2 separate regions of the Homo sapiens genome follow, and region 2 is linked to region 1. Evidence: promoter capture Hi-C in human tissues and cell types (Jung and others, 2019). All regions are on one chromosome and are shown on one strand. Each heading gives the region's core, a stretch centred on a gene start or on the middle of the fragment in contact. The rest is flanking DNA. Distances are from core to core; before and after follow the strand shown.

Region 1 (6,109 bases), core at 2,297-4,796:
TATATTTTAATCAAGCTTACCAAATTTTACACAATCACCAATTAGGATATTATTGGGAATGTATTGATTCTATGGAAAAATTTGGGGGCTAAGTAGATTCTTCACATTATCGAGTTTTCCAGTTAAAAAGAATAGTGTTTTCTTCCATTTATTTAGGTCTTCTTCAGTGTCTTTTAAGGATGCTTTGTGGTTTTCTGTGCAGAAATTCCTCTACATTCTTTGTTAGATTCACTCTTAGACATCTGATTTTTCTGTTATTGTAAATGCTTAAAAATTTTATAAAGAAATACAGTGGAATTTTGTAAGTTGACCTTGTATTCAGCAATCTTTACATACTCATTTCTAATAACTTATCAATACAGTCTTTTGGATTTTCTACATATACAATCACTAATCTACAAATAATGACTAATTTCATTTTCTAACTCTCATATCATGTTTCTTTTTCTTGCTTTATAACAGGTTATTAACACAAGGAATCATTTTTATCTTTAGGTACCATTACACTCTTTCTTTTCATGGGAGGTTGTAGGGATTTGTGTGTGACACACATATCATTATCTCGTAACAAAAAACAATGGCATTGGTCATCTAAAAATGAAATTTGGATACTAAAGAAACAAGAAAACATCTTACAGGAAAGACCTTCTTATAGAAATAGCACCTAAAACAGAATCTAAATAAATGTTAGTTTTTAGAGGAGGGAAACAAAGAGGTTGACCATTCCAGATAAAACAAGCATTTGAGCAAATGCTTAGAAGAAGGTGTACAGATAGAGAACTTTATTTAAGGAACTAGAAAGATGCCAATGCAGGGCCGTATTGAGGGAGAGTTGAGGTGTCATGAGATGGGGCTGTCGAATTAGGCAAGTTCATATCTTTTAGGACCTCCTAAGCCATGAGTATATGTTTGGCCAAAGCTCTCCGTTATCCATTGGACCTTTAGCATTCCATTTACATTGAGTGATTTTTCCTCCCTTCTTTCCTTCAAAAAATATTGAAATATAAGTAGAGGGAAAACTATTATTTTTAAAGTCATACTTTGGGTCACCTTAATAAGATCTATTCTTAATACTGTAAAAAGAGAAAAAAAAATGAATGCTTGAAAAGTGCCTGTGGAAATTACGCCAACTAGGTACATAATGTTATTAATATTAATAATAATTTAAGCGGCCTGCCCATTAAACATGCCTCAGTTGAAGTCATAGAGTTGTGAGGTATGAGTGCAGATCAACAAGACCAATAATTTCTGCCTTAAGAGTGGATAGAAGAGGACTCTGTTCACGTTTCCTTTTATACATACACATTAGTGTCCACCCTCCCTACAAAGATACGAAGATATGTTCATAAGTATGAAAAATAATATCACAACGTTAAATGCTATCAGTAAAACAAAGAGAAAAAGGGTAAAGAGGTCCCGCCAAGATTAGGGGTCAAGAAAAGTCTTTCTAAGCAAGGGTGTTTAAACAGAAAAGGCTAAGAATTAAAACTGGGAATAGGATGAGTGTTTTTACCAGGGGAAAAATATATGTGAAGGCTGAAGGGTGAGAGAGAGCATGGCACATTGAAGATGTGGAAATATTTCGGGTCCAATAGGACTTATGTATGCAAAAAGGGAGGTAAAATGGTTGGAGATGGAGATGGAGAGTTGCACTGAGATGGCTTATGGAGTTCCTATGAGTTGGGTTCAGGAGTGTGTTCATTCTACAGGCAATGGGGAATTCAACTGTTCATTCTAAAGGCAATGGAGAATTGCCATGAACTGATATGTGTTTGGAAGATCACACTGGCCACAGCATAGACAACAGATTGGTAGGGAAGTTCTTCTGTGAGTCTGACCAGTGAACAAGTTATTCTGATGATCTAGGCAAAAGACTGTCTTGGCTTGGAATGAAGAAAAGGCAAAAAAGATGGAGAAAGATAATCAGACTCACAAAATAGATATCTAGTAGATAAAATGAACAGAACTTGGTGACTGATTGGATGTGGTTGGAGAGGAAGGTGAGAGAGAGATGGGGAGAAGGCAGGGATGATGATTTCTAAATTTTTGACATGGCCAACAGAGTGATTTATATGACAGGGAACATAAAACAGACAGGGAGCGGGGTCCGGATTGAAGAGCAGAGATGATGAGCTTAGTTGATAATGAAATCAATGAGCTTAGAAATGATGAGTTAGGTGTTGAGTTTGAGGTGCCTGAAGGACACCTATGTCCAATAGACTTTACCATATTTGGAGTTTAGGAGATTGGTCTGGCCTGCTTGGGTGATGAAAGCTACTGGACAAAGTAAGATTACTCATAGTTACTATATAGAGGGGGAAGACAGATTATCTTCCTGGGCCATAGCTACCAGTAATGTGAGGAGTAAAGGACAAGGAGTCTCTCTGCCAACTCCATCCTGTTGACATTTAGTCTCTTCTAGTTCCAAAATACACATTTTAAAATCTCTGTGGAGCTATAAATCCTCCCAATATTGTCCATTTCACTCCTCTGTTCACGTACAAATATCTTAAAAGGGTTGTCTACATCGACTCTCTTCATCTCTTCCTAACACACTCCTCACACTGCTTCACTCAAGATTCCATCCCCCACCCTGTTATCCAGGTAGCCAGTGACCTTTGATTTCAGTCTTTTCACTGCTTGATCTCTCGGCAGCTTTCTGAACTGCTGACCAATCTTCCTTGTCAATATATTTTTTCCTGTCTCTTTTGTGGCACTGTCTACTGGATTTCCTACGTCCTTGGCTCTTCCATTTGTTTTGACTAGTAATAATGAACACAAACATTCACTGGAGACTTGCTAGTATCTCATTTCGTTTTTCACATTAAATGCTTTCACACTAAATGCTTATAGTAGTCATACTATTAATAAATGGGCGGACCCAAGTCTGTTTCCTTCTAGAGCCCCATGTTCAAACAAACATGCCACACGGTCTCATTTCTGGAGGGACAGGACATCTATGATTAGCGACCCAAGGAAGAAAGGGTGGGCTTGAGAGGGTGAGAGGGAGAGCTAAGGGGCAGCGCAGAGTAGTGGAAAGAGCTCAGATGCTAGAGTCAGTTGGGTCCTTGGTTCTTAAAGGCATCATCCTCAGAGCCATTGCTCAGGGACGGCCACGAGGCTGAAGATCCCCTGTGCGACCACAAGGTGGCAGCATGAAGAAGCGAGAGTCCCTGACACAGCTTCGATCCCCTTGGGTAGTTAGTGTGTTCGGAGCGCTGGTATCCCTGCGTGCTTTCTGCTGAGTGCCCACCCCTCCATTCCAGCAGGTCCTCTCTTCCAGCCCCGTTATTCCTCTTCTCCTTTCCACCCCGCGACACAGCCTCCCTCTAGTCTCTTGAGCTGGGCTCAGAGGGATAGTGATAGAGCTCAGTCCCTTTGGGTAGGAGTCAGGGCTCAGCTTTCCTTGGGCGTCTGAGCAGAGCGTCAGTGCCAGGGAGACCCGACTCGTTCACTCTCCATCACTCTACACACTCCTGAGGGGCCCCAGAGAAGCTATAATTGGGCGGCCTCCATGCGCTGGGGAAGCACTGGTGGTGAGTGTAGCAGGCTCAGCCCAGGGAGGTTAGGCAACGGGAGGGTCCGCAGAGACAGGCACAGAAGGCTCATTGCATAAGGAAGCCGGGACTTGATCAGTCAGCTTGGCTGCTTGGAGAGGTCTTCTAGTGTACACCTTTTCCAGATCACAGTAGCCCGGTTCCTGGACCTTGTTCCTACACAGAGGAATTTCTTCAAGCCTGTGAGACCCGTTCCAAGCTTTGCCTATCCTTTGTCCCAGGACAGGACTCCTCAGTTCCTGCCTCCTACTCTTCACTTAAGCAAGGCAAGGGGAATTACTTTACCAGGAAAAAAATGTGTGTGAGTGTGTACGTGTGTGTGTATGTGCACGTGTGTGTTGTGGTGGTGCTGGTGGTGATTGGTGATGAAGAAGGAAACTGAAGCTGGGCTGGAAAGTTGAGTTAGAGGAACACTGTGAAGGGCCTTGTCTGCATACTGTGGAGTTACTAGTTCTCACTTTATCTGGAAAGCTATGGGAATCACTCCTAACTTGCTCAGCAGGAGCCCCAGGTGTCCAGTTTTGCTGTTTAGATGGCAGTGGTGTGGAAGGTGGTTTGGAATAGACTAGGTTTGGAGGCAGGGAGGTAAGTTGGAAGGCTCTTTTTATAATCAGGGCAGAGTGGATAATATAATTAAGTTGGGAGGAGGTGTATTAAGAGGAACGGCCCCAATAATTAATTGGAAAAGTTGAATTGCATGTGGGGGTGAAAGAGGAGACGGGTCAAGATGAGACCAGCTGCCCTGACTTGGGTGATGTGGGTTCTGAGCAGTGGCATTCTCTGAGATCAGGAACAGGTTTGGAAGGGGTCCCTGTTAGAGGCAAGATGAGTGGGAGGCCCATAGGCTATCCAGGTAGAACTATCAAGGAGGCGGTAGGTTATATGGCTGAATCTCAGGACACAGGCTTAGAACAGTGTGGTCTGTAGAGAGAAAGAAGTTGAGCCTGGGACGTTGTGTGATCACCAGGGAGAGTAGGTGGAGGGAGAGGTGTGTGTGCCTGTGAACACTGTGGAGTAACAGCAGCAGCACTGGCTGATTTTCTGTTCATGTCTCAGCTGCATCTGATTTCCATGACATGCTCCTCTTGCTGAGCGCAACCTGGGACTGACTCTCACCTGGGGCTTGAGAGATCTTGATGGCAGATGCTGCTTATTGTTCGTTTGGGAGCTGGAAATGGAAATGATAGTCCCTCTTCATTCACCTCCCTGCCCCCAAGAACACCAGAACAACTTTCCCCAAAGTTCTCTGATTTAAAGCACAAATTTCCTAGGGGAAAGGGGCTTATCGTTTTTTGTTTGTTTATTTGTTTTGTTTTGTTTTTGAGTTGGTGTCTCGCTGTGTCACCCAGGCTGGAATGCAGTGGGGGTGATCTCGTCTCACTGCAGCCTCTGCCGCCCAGGTTCAAATGATTCTCCTGCCTCAGCCTCCTGAGTAGCTGGGATTACAGGTGCGCTCCACCAAGCCTGGCTAACTTTTGCATTTTTAATAGAGGCAGGGTTTCACCATGTTGGCCTGGCTGGTCTCGAACCCCTGACCTTGCGATCTGCCCACCTCGGCCTCCCAAAGTGCTGGGATTACAGGCGTGAGCCACTGTACCTGGCGGGGCTTATTGTTTTTTAAAAAGATTTCCAAAACCTTGCCCTGGCAATTCTGATTTTCTGGGCCTGGAGCAGGACCTGGAGGGATGGTGTTGTCAATTACTTTAGATGTTTCTATCAGGAAAGTTTGAGAAATGGTATTCAGGCCTAAACACAAACCTCTCTTGAAATCTCATCCCAGACTGAGCCCCTGCTCCCTATCTTAAATTAGATTATAGTAGGTCTTAAAGTCAGCTGTAGACTGAGCCTCTAAATCTGAACCCAGACCCACCCTAACCCCAGGATACATCAGAAGAGCTGGTCAATGTGGACCATTCTGAGCAATCCTGCAAGTCTACTCTGATGGGAAAAGGCTAAGAGCAGTGCCCTGGGCAGCAACATCAGCTCTGAAGATGCAGGACTGTGTTACATGTTTTATGAGTGGGTCTTCACACACTGAGATTCATGGGACAGTAATAGAATCTGCTTGTGCAGCACTGGGGCCTTGGAGGGTCAGGGTAAGGCTCAAGATGTCCAGGAAGTTGTATATAAGGAGAATCAGAGCAGAGAGAGACTAGGGTTCAGAATTACCAGGATGACTTAGTCCTGTTTGTTACTGTCACCACTCCAATGCCTTTTCCTCATTAGTCCTTTCTCTCCTCTGAGCCACAACTAAATGATGTTTCTACTTTTCCCTTTCTACTTTCCTAGACCCTGGATTTTGTATGCAGAAGCCCCAGCTCTTGGTCCCTATCATAGCCACTTCAAATGGAAATCTGGTCCACGCAGCATACTTCCTTTTGGTGGGTATCCCTGGCCTGGGGCCTACCATACACTTTTGGCTGGCTTTCCCACTGTGTTTTATGTATGCCTTGGCCACCCTGGGTAACCTGACCATTGTCCTCATCATTCGTGTGGAGAGGCGACTGCATGAGCCCATGTACCTCTTCCTGGCCATGCTTTCCACTATTGAC
Region 2 (6,109 bases), core at 1,140-3,639, 170 kb after region 1:
TCAACAGATTTGGAGGGGAGCCAGGTCCAAATCATATCAACTACAGGCACATTTGAGTTAGTCATATGCTTTATATTTTGGACATAAGGATTCTTCATGTTATAATGAAGTTAGTCATCTATTTTCATTGGTTCAGAATATTTAAGTTTACTTACAATCATGATAGAGTAATACAGCTTAACTAATTAATGTCTATATTTGGGCTGGAATTGCAGGTATTCATTGTTTTGATTTTGGGTGGAAATCATGCAAATTAGATGTTCTGTTTGTCAGTTTCTTTTGTTCCCTATTCTATCCCCACCTTTTGGCAGAATGCTAGGTGAAGAGTAATTGCTCAATATATTACTTGAATAGAAATTTAAAATGTTACAAATATTTTATTTTTCATTAAAAAAGTGACTGGAGGACAATTTGCTATCTGTATAACAAATTTATCTTATCTGACAATATCCTTTACAATTTTAATTATGTAGGGTGATAAAAGAAGTCCTTGGGACTGAGAGGTATGGTATTGTATTCAATTTTGGAGAAATGAGATAAAAATGGACCTGGACCTGCAAAAGCCATCTTGTGATAAGTACTAGGTGAACATCACACTGTATCACATAAATATGTAAAATCATTTTTATCAATAAAAACATAATTAAATTAAATTTAAAAATACACTAAAGTATAAAAATATAATGAAAATGCCATAAGCATCACTACTCCAAGCAGCTATTTTTTATCATTTGGATATATTTCCTGAATTCCTTTCTTTACGTACGTATTCCAGTATAGAATTGGTACCAAGCCTTATGGGCGATAGTTTTTCTTTTCAATTTAAGATTATATCTTGCTTATTTGTCAAATTTTCAGATAGTCCTTTCAAATAAAATAGTTAAATGGCACCTGATATTCAACAGAGTATTGCTTCATCTGTAATCTTATAGGACAATATTTGAATCATTTTATATTTTGTTTTTATAAGGCATGATTTTATGCATGTCTTTGTACATATGCACTTTATTTTTATAAACATATTCTCAGATGAAGAAATATATGTACTTTTAAATTATTTGATGTAAATTTCTAAATTTCTTTTAAGCAAAGTGTACCTACTTCTACTGACAGTGTAAAAACAACTTTTTTACCTTAATCATCTGTGGGAGATGACATTCTTTTAAAATATTCACTGATTTAATAGGTAAAACTACTTTTATTGTTTCCATGTGATGATGAATATGTAGTCAACAAAGTTGTTCTTATCCATCACATCTCTCAGGTATCTCTTTTCTAGGTACCCTGAAAATTGTTTCTCTTGCCTCTAGAGGGTTGCTTACCTCTGAGCCAGTTATTTACAGAGCTGACTTAGTGATAATAAGTAATAGCCTGTCAAATGTTCATTAATGTCCCCACATTAGTGGGGCAATGTAAGTGATGGGGATACACTGACCCTTTGCTCAGGGGATGTTTCCACAACATCCTTGGATAACCCTGTCCCCGATCTGTTTGGTTCTAACTCCATAAATGATGGGGTTGAGCATGGGAGGTATCAGTAGATAGAGATTAGCAAACAGGATGTGTACAACTCGGGGCACATCATGGCCAAAGCGGTAGGTGAGGAAAGAAAAAAGGGCTGGGATATAAAGAGCCAAGATGACACAGATATGGGAGGAACGTGTGCTAAAAGCTTTGAGGCGGGCTTCACCTGAGGGCAACTGAAGCACAGCTCTCAAAATCATCACGTATGACATACCAATGACAATCATATCAAAGCCAGCCACAGAGAAGGCCACAAAGAGCCCATTCCCACGACTTATGCTTGTATCAGCACACACCAACTTCAGCACAGCCATGTGCTCACAGTATGACTGGGGAATGGCTTGGTGTTGGCAGAAGGGCATCCTAGACACCATGAAGCAGAAGGGGCTCACCCACAGCAGCCCTCTCAGCATCACGATGGTCCCCAGTTTGATCACGACCGATGGGGTCAGGATGCTAGAGTGTCGGAGTGGGAAGCAGATAGCCACGTAGCAGTCCAGGGCCATAGCCATGAGCACCCCAGACTCCACAGAAGAAAAGGCATGGATGAAGAACACCTGGATGAGGCAGGCATGGTACTGAATCTCATGAGCATGAAACCAGAATATGGCCAACATCTTAGGTTGAGTGGAGGAGGAGAGGACCAGGTCAGTGATGGCCAGCATGGCCAGAAAGAGGTACATGGGCTCATGCAGGGTGTGGTCAATTCTGATTACATGGAGGAGAGTGATATTTCCAACAACAGCCACAGCATACGTGGCACAGAACGGAAAGGCAATCCACAACTGGAAACTCTCCAGGCCTGGGATTCCAAGCAGGATGAAGGACACAGGATGAGAAGAGCTGTTCCCTGAAGCCAGCACCATGGACTGGTTAATATGGTCTCTGCTGGGAACGCAATCTACTCTCTGCAGATGATAACAATCAAAACAAGTGTTATTATTATATACAAGGCTTTTGGATGGGACTATTGGATACCAGGGTGATTGGGTTTGATTATAAACTAGAATAATTTCAACTGTTTTAATAAATAATATGTTACAACATGACATGATGTTACTGTTGTTTTTCGTACTTATGTCATTCAAAATGGGGTAGAACATACTAGTTGCATGTGTAACTGTTTTTTAAGAATCAATATTTTTCTTGACCAGGTGTGGTGGCTTACACCTATAATCCTAGCACTTTGGGAGGCTGAGGCAGGCAGATTGCTTGAGGTCAGGAGTTCAAGACCAGCCTGGCTGACATAGTGGAACCCCTTTTCTATTAAAAATACAAAAACAAAACAAAACAAAAAAAAACCCCATTAGCCAGGCATGGTAGAGCACGCCTATAGTCCCAGCTACTCAGGAGGCTGAGGAAGGAAAATCACTTGAACCCAGGAGTTGGACGTTGCAGTGAGCTGAGCTCACACCACTGCACTCCAGCCTGGGTGTCAGAGCGAAACCGCCTCAAAAAAAAAAAAAAAAAATGAATCAATATTTTTCTTGAAAGTAGCATCTGCTAAGGGAAAATCATCATGACAAGTAATATTATAGTAATTCTTGCTCTTCAGTTCTATAGAACTAACAGCTGATTAGCTTAAACTTTTCCACAGGTCCTTTTTAAACCTCTGGTTAGCCACTTGGCCAATTTCTCAGAGTAGGAAGTCAGTAGAGTTTGCAAGCCTATAGCAATTTATGTATTGCTTTGAAGTTAGCTTTGAATCTAGGTCAGTTACCACAAGGGCTTGGGTGGGAAGTTAATCTACTGACCAATTGTACATTTATAATTTAATTTATTATCTTTAGTGTAGGTTTCTCCTAGACAAGAAGTTAGCAAACTTTTTTTCTTTAAAAAGTGAGATCACAAAATTTTGAGAAATTGTGGCCTATACTGTCTGTTGCAGCAGATCAATTCAGCCATTGTAGTGTGAAAGTAACCATAGTCAACACATAAATGTGTGAGTGTGGTGTGTTCCAATAAACCTTTGTTTACAAAAATGGGTTGCAAGCAGGTGTTGGTTTCCAGGCTATAGTTTGCCAACCTCTGTCCTAGAAGAGGAATTTTTCATGAAGTCAGCTGTGAACCCCACACTATCTCTAGCATCTCTGTGCTTGGTGCAGAGTAGGAATTTAATAAAATATTCCTGAGGAAAGTAGCAAATAAATGTCATTATTCAAAGGCAGCAGACTCATTAACTGATTAACAATATTCTAAATACCCAGACAGAGCCCTATTGACTACCTTGAGGCCATAGAGGTTGCCCTGCTACAGTAGATACTGTGTGAGCCCCACTGTCTGTCTCTATTCATCTTACCTGAGTTTATTCCACTCTTTGAGTTTTTTGGTGATCACTATCAATCTCAGAATCGATGGCACAAAGCTCATTTTGTTCTTACCCAACACTTTTTCACTAAACTCAGTTGCCTGTGCTTTGTTTGAAAGCCTCAGTTCTTACCACCTTCAAAAGAGAAACACCTGGGCAAGAAAAGTATGCATTTAAATACCCATCACCTCTTGGAACTAATACATGTCTCATTCACTAGAAAAAAAAAAATCCTGAAAAGAATTTCTTCAAGATCCCCCAAAGGCCTTATCTTTTCCTAAATTTCTCTTACATTTGCTGAGGAGTGCTTTAATTCCAACTATGTGGTCGATTTTGGAATAAGTGCGATGTGGTGCTGAGAAGAGTGTATATTCTGTTGATTTGCGGTGGAGAGTTCTGTAGATGTCTGTTAGGTCCGCTTGGTGCAGAGCTGAGTTCAATTCCTGGGTATCCTTGTTAACTTTCTGTCTCGTTGGTCTGTCTAATGTTGACAGTGGGGTGTTAAAGTCTCCCGTTATTATTGTGTGGGAGTCTAAGTCTCTTTGTAGGTCTCTACGGACTTGCTTTATGAATCTGGGTGCTCCTGTATTGGGTGCATATATATTTAGGATAGTTAGCTCTTCTTGTTGAATTGATCCCTTTACCATTATGTAATGGGCTTCTTTGTCTCTTTTGATCTTTGTTGGTTTAAAGTCTGTTTTATCAGAGACTAGGATTGCAATCTCTGCCTTTTTTGGTTTTCCATTTGCTTGGTAAATCTTCCTCCATCCCTTTATTTTGAGCCTATGTGTGTCTCTGCACGTGAGATGGGTCTCCTGAATACAGCACACTGATAAATCTCTCAAGATTTATAACAGACTGGGAGAAATAGGGCTCAGACTTTATAAGTCTAGATTTAAACTGGAATCTTGACCATCCTGCCAGAGAATAAGATATAGGTTTGCTCAAAACAAATACTTGTATGTAGAGTATGGTAAAAATTCAAAACCACCTATATCCGGGGTCCACCTATATCTCTGTCCCCCTTTGCCTGTCCCAGACTTTCCAAGCTGTTTTGTATATTCTGTTTGAGCCGAAGTCTTTCTGTCACTTGCCCCTGTATATCACCCTCAAATTGTCGTGGGGACAGTCCCCCAGCTTCAGGGGTACCTTGAAATGCATACCCAGACCATCCTCATTGCTGTACGAGGCAATATAAGGGGTGCTGGCCAAATCCCGGAACTTAAAGTAAAATTTAAAAAATAAATAAATAAATAATTGTTATTTTTGGAGACTTAGCACTATAGACTTAAACAATTTTTTTTAATAAACTTACGTGTGCATGTGTCTTTAGAGTAGCATGATTTATAAACCTTTGGGTAAATACCCAGTAATGGGATCGCTGGGTCAAATGGTATTTCTAGTTCTAGATCCTTAAGGAATTGTCACACTGCCTTCCATAATGGTTGAACTAATTTACACTCCCACCAACAGTGTAAAAGCATTCCTATTTCTCCACATCCTCTCCAGCATCTATTCATGATAGCAAAGACTTGGAACCAACCCAAATGTCCATTAATGATAGACTGGATTAAGAAAATGTGGCACATATACCCCATGGAATACTATGCAGGCATAAAAAAGGATGAATTCATGTCCTTTGCAGGGACATGGATGAAGCTGGAAACCATCATTCTAAGCAAACTGTCACAAGGACAGAAAACCAAACACCGCATGTTCTTACTCATAGGTGGGAGTTGAACAACGAGAACACATGGATACAGGGTGGGGAACATCACACACTGGGGGCCTGTCTGGGGGTGGGGGGTTGGGGGAGGGATAGCATTAGGAGAAATACCTAATGTAAATGATGAGTTGATGGGTTCAGCAAACCAACGTGGCACATGTATACATATGTAACAAACCTGCACATTGTGCACTTGTACCCTAGAACTTAAAGTATAATTTTTAAAAAATGATAAAAAATTTGTTTATTTGCTTGTTCTTTTTCTTTTATTTTTGAGACATGCTTTCACTCTGTTGTCCAGGCTGGAGTGCAATGGTGTGATCACAGCTCACTCTAGCCTTGAACTTCTGGGTTTAGGTGATCCTCCCACCTCAGCCTTCTGGGTAGCTGGAACTACAGATACGCACCACAACGCCCAGCAAATTTTTTGTATTTTTAATAGAGACAGGGTCTCACTATGTTACCCAAGCGTGTCTCAAACTCTTGGGCTCAAGTGACCAGCCAGCCTTGGCCTCCCGAAGTGCTGGAATTAAAGACATATGCCACTATGC

Evidence for each region. Contacts are between HindIII fragments. The study calls those that stand out against the background at their distance.
Region 2: the fragment with the promoter of OR52R1 here is called in contact with the fragment with the promoter of OR51D1 in region 1 in 1 of the 25 tissues and cell types used here (ovary).

The regions. Positions count from the first base shown.
Region 1 is chr11:4,633,931-4,640,039 of GRCh38, forward strand. OR51D1 (olfactory receptor family 51 subfamily D member 1) reads left to right here and starts at 3,547. Exons shown (of 2, transcript NM_001004751.3): 1 at 3,547-3,823; 2 at 5,847-6,109. The coding sequence starts at 5,861. The HindIII fragment of the contact is 12,772 bases long and covers 1,886-6,109 here.
Region 2 is chr11:4,801,991-4,808,099 of GRCh38, forward strand. OR52R1 (olfactory receptor family 52 subfamily R member 1) reads right to left here and starts at 2,390. Exons shown (of 1, transcript NM_001005177.3): 1 at 1,443-2,390. The coding sequence starts at 2,390. The coding sequence ends at 1,443. All of the region lies in intron 2 of MMP26 (matrix metallopeptidase 26), which reads left to right. The HindIII fragment of the contact is 16,304 bases long and covers 1-6,109 here.